Regions from separate parts of the Homo sapiens genome. Here region 2 is linked to region 1. Evidence: promoter capture Hi-C in 16 types of primary human blood cells and fetal thymus (Javierre and others, 2016). All regions are on one chromosome and are shown on one strand. Each heading gives the region's core, a stretch centred on a gene start or on the middle of the fragment in contact. The rest is flanking DNA. Distances are from core to core; before and after follow the strand shown.

Region 1 (4,007 bases), core at 1,041-3,540:
CAAGTACCCCAATAATAGGGTATAAAATGTTAATACTAGATATAACAGAATTGTAGCTTGCAAAAACTGGCAGCTTATCTACTTGTCTACATAAGAAAAACAATCAATTATATTTTTTTGCATTTTTATTTGTCCATATTCCATCACATCAAATTTGTACATGTTGACATCTTTGATGATAAACTTCTTAGAAATAGGCATTTTGATACATACCATGATACATCTTCCCAAGTTAAAAGATTAGTGTTAATTCTGGGCACTATATTTTAAACACTTTACCAATTTAGTATCAATGGATTTCTTAAATTTATATTATCTACTGGATAGTATTATAGGAAATCTATTTAAACTAAGAAAACATCCACTATTCTAAAAATGAAAAAATTTCTATAGTCAACATTTACTGAAGATTGTCCAATAAAAAGACAAAAAGGCCAAACGTGTCACATAAAATTGAGGACTCCCTTTTTGTTTCTCCTGATAAATATTCTACCTGTACTTAGAAAATACAAGCTTCTGTTCTTTCTACAGTGGGGGACAATTTAAAAGCTTACACAATTGAAAAATGATTCTTATGTAATCCTGAGTATTACATCTGCTATCTGTCTCAATGTGTCAATGGCTAGTGATAATAAATACTTCTTTGCTGACAATTTATTCCGAATTTATATTAAGTCAGCAAAGTCACTTTCTCTGAGCATGGTTTTGTTTATTATTTGTTTGTTTACAGGAGGAATTACCAAACCTATTCATGACTGGCTTGTATTGGTCCTGATGCAAAATCTATCTTTTAATCATTTATTTATGAGTATGATGTTGCTTTACAAGACAATTGTAGAATGAAATATTTAAACATTTGCTGTTAGATCTTCATTAAGGCAATATAAATTTACACTACAAATGCTAGTGAATACTAATACTTTAATCCATATTAGCCATTTTACAAGCATTGTCATAAACTATTTTCCTTTGCCACACATGAAAAAATTCTAATAATCAATTCAACTGGAAAACTAATTTATATTAGTTGTTAATCATTTTAATTACATGATGATGACAGTTATGGGTAGGGCATCATTTTTCTCCTCGGGATTTTTATTTTCTCCTCTTACCTCCATTATGGAAACAAAACAAAACAAAAACAAAAAGAACAAATTGCACCCCTATTTCTATAGCCCTTTCCCAGCATCCTTGTTTCTCATATGCATAAACTGATATTTAAATATCTACTGTTAACTTGGTGGATTCAGCCTCTCAAGGCTATTTTCAACCTGCTTCCTCCCTTCCTGTGTTCCGCGGGCTAGTGAGTGAACTCCTTATTGATAAAATCCAATGTTTACAGACAAAAATAACATCTCTAAGTTGACATGTGATTTTGCACTGTTTTCAGATGAGGTGAGTATGACACATTAATCAGAGGTACTTAGAATTTTAGGTCAGTTTTGCAATAAATTTTTCAGGTGCATTTTAAAGGTCTTTGAAGACCATAAGCCTATGTTAATGTTAAACGACTTTTTTTTTCTTTTTTCTTTTTCTTTTTTTTTTTTTTTAAACAAAAGGATCTGGAAAGGTAACCTACCTTTATGTGACAGGCGTAACCGGGGGTGGGTAGTATCAGCTGTATGACCTCCTGTCCAAAGCTCCAGTAAGTAACCCCACAGGAGCAAGGTGATAATGTGCCCCGCGGATGCCATGCTGCCGTGTTCACCGTCCAAGCCCTCGCTCCTCACTTTAAGGAGGGTCTGAGTTTTACTTAGGACTTCCCTCCAGGGGCAGCGTGCGAGAGGCTTTGTCAGAAATCGAACGCGTTGTCATCAGAAAGCACAGTTCCGAAGTGCCATTTGTCAGGCTGTATTTGGCTATGTAAAACCTTTCTTTCCTCGGGACAGTTGTTTATAAGCCGGGAGCAAGAGGACATTCCAAAGAGTGAGTCTTCAGAGCCATGTCCTGTCTAGAGCGCTCTTCAGCAACTACGCCGGTAGATTCAGGAAGAAGCTGTATTTTTCAGTCACTTGGGCAAAGCTGTTCATTCAGAAAAAAAAAAAAAAAAGAGAGAAAAAAACAAAACCGAGCACACGCACTCCCTTCTCCCGTGGAGGTCCTCTCTTCGGGCTCCTGGAAGCCTCTCAGAAGTCAGCCTCTTGCACTGACTTGCCAAACTGCTAGTTTTAATTCACCTTTCACCTTGCTAATTAAAAACAAGAAGTGCCATTCCCTCTAGGAGTCGCAGGATCCACCCAGCAGGGATGCAGTCTGTCAGTGGCTGTTTACAGGAAAGTTCAGGCAGGGTTGAGCAGCGTACTTGCTGTTTCTAGGAAGTATTTCTGGTCCACGTGCCTCGCTCCCATCCTCCCTCCCAGTCATAACCAGCCCCACGTTACTCAGCAGCAGGAGAGAAGTCCACATTTTGATGGGGGAAATGGGGAGTTCGGGAGGGGTGATGACATAGACTGATTATTTAAGAATAGGTGACAGACAAGGATGTGGCATCAGAAAGCGCTTTTAAATTCTTACCAAGATAAATTGACCTAAGTTGAATAAATCCAACTTCTTTTGAAAATAATCTATTTGTAACCATCCAGAATCCAAATTCTGTTTTTCACTGTTGCCATAAGGTTTTTTTCAAAATTAAGTCTTTTTCTATTGCTTATATCTTAGGGATGTTATTTTTAAACTCTTTTAAGAAAAGTGTGTTTCAAGAGCCTGAAAAAAAAAAGTTCATCTGTGACTGTCTCATAAATTTGATAGAAATGATAAATTATTTACTTAAGCAAATTGGTCAAATGAAATTAAAGGCAAATCCTTTGTCCTAAAGCAATTCCTAAATTTTACTTCAAATTTAGGAATGTTGAAGTAATTTCCCCCAGGTAAGGTAACTGGCAAAGTTGAGATTCACCACCCAAGGGATTTCTATAAAGCAGGTATTAGAAAACTTAGGATGTGCAATACCTTAGGATTCAACTGCTATGGACTTCCAGAGTTGATTTTCCAAGGCACTGTGTTTGTGTAAATAAGCTTAACACAATAGGTCAACTTTACAATCTACCTTCAATCAATCTCAAAAACTAAGCCAAACACTCAGGAGCTGTTGGCATGGAAATGAATGGTATTATGTTAAGATACCAATAAACTTGAATAGATATTTGATTTGATAGTGGAGAGTTAAATGGTAAACACTGATCTCAACTATGATAACTTTTTCTTATTCTGTATTTTAAATGCTAATAGTTAAAAACTTTTTGAGAATTATGTTTTAAAATCACGAAACTATAACAAAAAGATAACATGTGTCACCCTGATATTTTTGCATTATATAGAAGCATATGTACAGCCAGGCATTCTCTACCCATTTTTCTAATCATGAGATGTTCTTGTACAAGCAGAGTATATTTAGCAAAATGTAAATGTCACTGGACATTATAAATAATTAGATTTCCAAGGTCTACAAAAGATAGCAAACTCTAAACATTATTTAACAGTAAAATGACATGAAGTTATTTAGAGACTTTTAACCTGGAATGCTTGCATATTTTAAAAGCCAGTCTGATGAGCTACAGACCTAAAGGTTGCTCTAAATGTGATACATTGTACCTTCAAAATTCTCTTTTGCTTTCTTCTAGGATGGAAACAAATGACAAAATAAATAGCAGCTCTTATATGTGTTATCTAATAGTAGGATTATAGGAAAAGTAAATGTGGTGCCTACACCTTTTATTGCAAATTCATGGCTACTCTCACATAGCTGAAATTCTACTTAAGATTGCATAGTGCCTGTCCTAACTCTACTATAGAACTGAGACAATGTGAGACATTACAATCATTTCATTAGTACACAAAATATGCACCTCTAAAGTGTTGACAAGAGAATATATGTTATGAATGCCAAGATCTGTCTTTGGTTTTACATCTCATCCTTCAGATTAAGTTGGAGCAATTTAGAAGTAAATGCCAGAATAATGGGTTGTTTAGATTCCTCAAAATGTGCTTTGGCTTATCTGCCAGTTGTC
Region 2 (4,007 bases), core at 893-3,392, 260 kb before region 1:
GGTTGAGGTGACTTTCTTTCTAAAACCTGTCCAAAGAATCAAGGATTTACAAATTTAATTATCTCCCAGAATGTACTGTATGATTTTGATCTAAAAACATGTTAGGTTTTAAATTTCACGATAGGCTAGGAAAAAAGGAATAAAAAGTTCAAAGTGTTCCGCATTTGGAATCAGTAATTTTGTATTCCAATGACAAATGTTTAGTCTGCAGTGCCAAAACGAGGTGAAGCCTTCCATTGATTCACTCTCTATCCAAAATGCACCTATTACCTCTTCTCTGTAATAGAGACAGGTCTCTAGAGCTTATTTTCATTATTCAACTTGCAACCTTTTCTTTACCAAGGATAATTTTTTCAATATTCATCATTTAATATTCAATATTATTTCTCCTTCTAAAATATCCATTTTTTTTTCTACTTGCTATCTTTGTAATTCCACTTTTGTGAAACTGAGTTCAAAGCCTACATCACCATGATCTGCCTTACCTAACTGCTTTATGCCCTGGACCTCTTTATGCCCTGGACTCTTTCTATAGACAGCCCTTGACTCACATTCTTTTATCCAGTAACTGCCTCCTATTCTACACATGTGCTTTAAAGCTGCCTATTCTTCCATCTCTACAAGCATCCAAGTCATTCCTCTCCCATCATTTAGATGATGAAAGAGCGGGGTCTTTCCTTTGTTCCCAGCGGTCAAGAACCCTTGTGTCAATGTCTCATATATAATTGAAAAATTTTCTTCTACAATGAGCTTAATGTTGTAGCTGTGTTGTTATTTTAATTCTGTTATTATTCATATGTCTAAGACATATGTGTTAATGATAATTAAGTTTTGCTATTTCTCTACAACACTGCCTTGGGAGTCATGATTTAAGACTATCATTTTGACAACATGACCATAAAATCATGAGTTATAAGTACCTCTTTAAAAAATTCTTACTTCCAAGATCCAAATTAATGATTTCTATGTATGTGTATAGCATATATATATTTATATAGTATATGTATATAAAATCTATATGTATATATATTTAAATTATTGTGTGTATATAAATCACACATAACAAATAAAACTGACTTATTAAATAAGGCATGCATAGTACAACAGCTAGCTTCATTTTTCAGCATCCAAATAAATCATCTATTTACTGATCACACACTATATGCAAAATACTATGTTTTGAATATGCAGCTATGAATTACCTCCTCTTTTCTTGTCTCACGTCCTTTCTGTACAAACCAGATAACTTTCGCTTGTAAAGATCGTGGGGTACATTCCAGCAAAGTACTGTTGTTCTCTATGCCATAAGCCAGATGTTCTTCAGTCTTATCCAAAGCATCCCCTACAACAGGAACATTAATGCCATCTTTGAGACTTAGATTTTATAGGTAAATAAATTTTTCAAACATTATTTAGATCCCTGCAGTAACATGATTAACTCATTACTTATTGCTTATTTCTGCAAAAGGTAATTTAAAGGAATTATTTAGAAAGAGTGGCATACCAAAATTTAGGCATGAAACAAGCAAGCAGGCTATGGGGTGGGACAGAAGTAGGTAACTGAGAGTCTGGTTCCAAAGGATGGGACAGGATAGTCAAGGCAGTAAGAAGCATCAGTGTTAAACTCATGGAAAGTCTATTGCAACCTCTATTGAGGGAAGAGAAAGGGAACACCAAAGCACAGGACAAAATTCGTGGATACAAACAAAAGCAGACACCAGAAATGCAGGCAAAATGCCACTACATAAACACAAATGTGGATTATATCTTGACAAGGGATTGCATTTATCTGGGTGTTGGGCTGCTGTAGTGAGAAGAGAATATGAGACTGAACCAGGGACTTTGTGAAATAAAGCTTGATTATAATCTGTGTCTTGGACCAGAAAGGCTCTTACTGGACTTGAACTCAAATTTGCACACAGGCAAGTACACTTAGCTGCAGTAGGGAATAAAAGGAAGCAGGATTACTCTCTCTTTATTTTAAACTAAGACAAATTCAATAACTGGACCTCTGGATTTATTTTTCCTATGCCTGAATCCTACTCACCTTCAGAACTGACCCCTAAACTTCCCTAAGATGAAGGTCCTACTTTTCTCTTGCTAGTATTCCCAGAGGCTTGAGTCCTCCACTGAATCCTGAGTCAGTCTGGGGTCCAACAAATTGATGCTGGAGCACAGTCTCTGGCTCTGCGTATAGCCACCGCTGGTTTCTCATTTATGGTGTCCCTTCTTATTATTACTTCCTAGTGAGCTCAGTGACACTAAATACAGCCTATTCAACAGTCACTACCATAATAGAAAGAGTCAGGAGTTAACAGAGAAGTTCTTTCTTATATTCCTTACTTTTGCCTAAAGATGAGATTTCCTCCATTCCTAACCCATCAGTTACCACCACCCTATCACCTTTATTGAACCACCAACCCCAGCCCTAAGCTTGGTCAACTTAGATAAAAGAGTAAAAGCTTTTTCACTTTATCTATCCCAAAGCTTAGGAGATGACTTGATAGAAGTAATACCAGTTGATAAAATCACCAGAAGGTACGTAACATGGTGAAGATAGTCCCCAGTATGAGATAAAGAGGTAAGTCATAAGAGTCACTGTGGCATCAACCACCTAAAGTATGCAGCATTCTTGTTCTAGGGTTTCTTTGTTTTAATAATTAGTTTAATAATAAAGCTTGGTGGTAGCACATAAAACTTATTTTCCTAATCAGGTAAAAATTAGTCAAATTTTCAAAATTTTAACTACATGTCAGAGAAAAAGAATACTTATTACATTGTTCTAGTATACATGAATCACAAAGAAAAAAAGGACTCTTTTTAAGAAGTTTGTAGTTTATGTTCAATGTATTCTCTGAGTAACCCAGAACAACTGATTTTCTATGGATTACCAACAAACTGTTGTCCAAAGCACTGCTGAGCTGCATTTCCATGTCGAACATCTTGTCTCCGGAAACGCCTGAAAGAAAGTAAATGCATTTAGATGTTCATTTTTTCAATTTTCCAGACTTTAAAATGCAGCCAATTGCATTTCATATACAAGTAGTATTCTGCTACTGAAAAAAATGATCATTCATATGAAAAAAGAATAAAATCCAAGTTTCATAGTTTTTCATATTTCCATTATATGTTCTTCAGTAGCTAAGATCTATGTTACCCTGTTCTTTATTTACATAATGTTGAATTCTGGAAACTCAAACAACAATGGAATGTATTTCTCTTTACTTTTTGTTAAAAATTTAGTTCAACAAGAAATCTTCTAGTTTGAGAATGTCTTGAATGGTAAGGTATTTGAGCAGATAAAGACAATGGGATTTGAAGTAAAGTATTTATTGAGTACAAAACAGTTATTTTGAGTATAAAACTCCCATATATAATAAAGTGCAAATGAAAAAGGTGTTAAAATCCAAATAGTTTGTTCTATAGCCATTATAATCAATTAGTACAAATAGAATTTCTAACAATAAGACATAAACTAATAATATACTGTAGTCAGCTTACTTTTATTCAGATATAACATTGCCTCTATTCAATGTGATAGTGTGTTTTTCATGTTTAGCAGAATTTTGTGCATCTAGTGGGACTCAAGAAATATTAGTATTTTCCCCCTCAATCTGCCTCGTATAATTAGAGTCATTTCTAGTATTGTTTTAATTTCATAGATTGTTTAGATATATAACTGAAAAAAATACAATATTCTGTATCTGCGGAAAAATTCCAGAATATATATGTTTATATATATATAACGTTATATATATGTTTATATATATATAACATTATATATATGTTTATATATATATAACATTATATATATAAAATTCCAGAATATATGTAATATACATATGTTTCGAATATATAAAATATTATATGTATATGTAATTCAAGAATATATATATTATGTATATAATATAATGTTTTGAATATATATAAAAACATTAGCCGGGCATGGTGGCTCACGCCTGTAATCCTAGCACTTTGGGAGGCCAAGACGGGTGGATCATGAGCTC

The links. The method cuts DNA at HindIII sites, captures the fragments that hold promoters and counts their contacts. A CHiCAGO score of 5 or more calls a contact.
Region 2: a fragment that was not itself captured here is called in contact with the fragment with the promoter of SEMA3E in region 1 in 1 of 17 cell types (megakaryocytes); the score reaches 5.8 in megakaryocytes.

The regions. Positions count from the first base shown.
Region 1 is chr7:83,646,849-83,650,855 of GRCh38, forward strand. SEMA3E (semaphorin 3E) reads right to left here and starts at 2,291. Exons shown (of 17, transcript NM_012431.3): 1 at 1,580-2,291. The coding sequence starts at 1,694. The HindIII fragment of the contact is 2,466 bases long and covers 548-3,013 here.
Region 2 is chr7:83,384,092-83,388,098 of GRCh38, forward strand. SEMA3E (semaphorin 3E) reads right to left here. Exons shown (of 17, transcript NM_012431.3): 15 at 2,892-2,959; 16 at 1,203-1,342. Among named protein-coding and RNA genes, the nearest start is that of PCLO, 220 kb to the left of the region's middle. The HindIII fragment of the contact is 578 bases long and covers 1,854-2,431 here.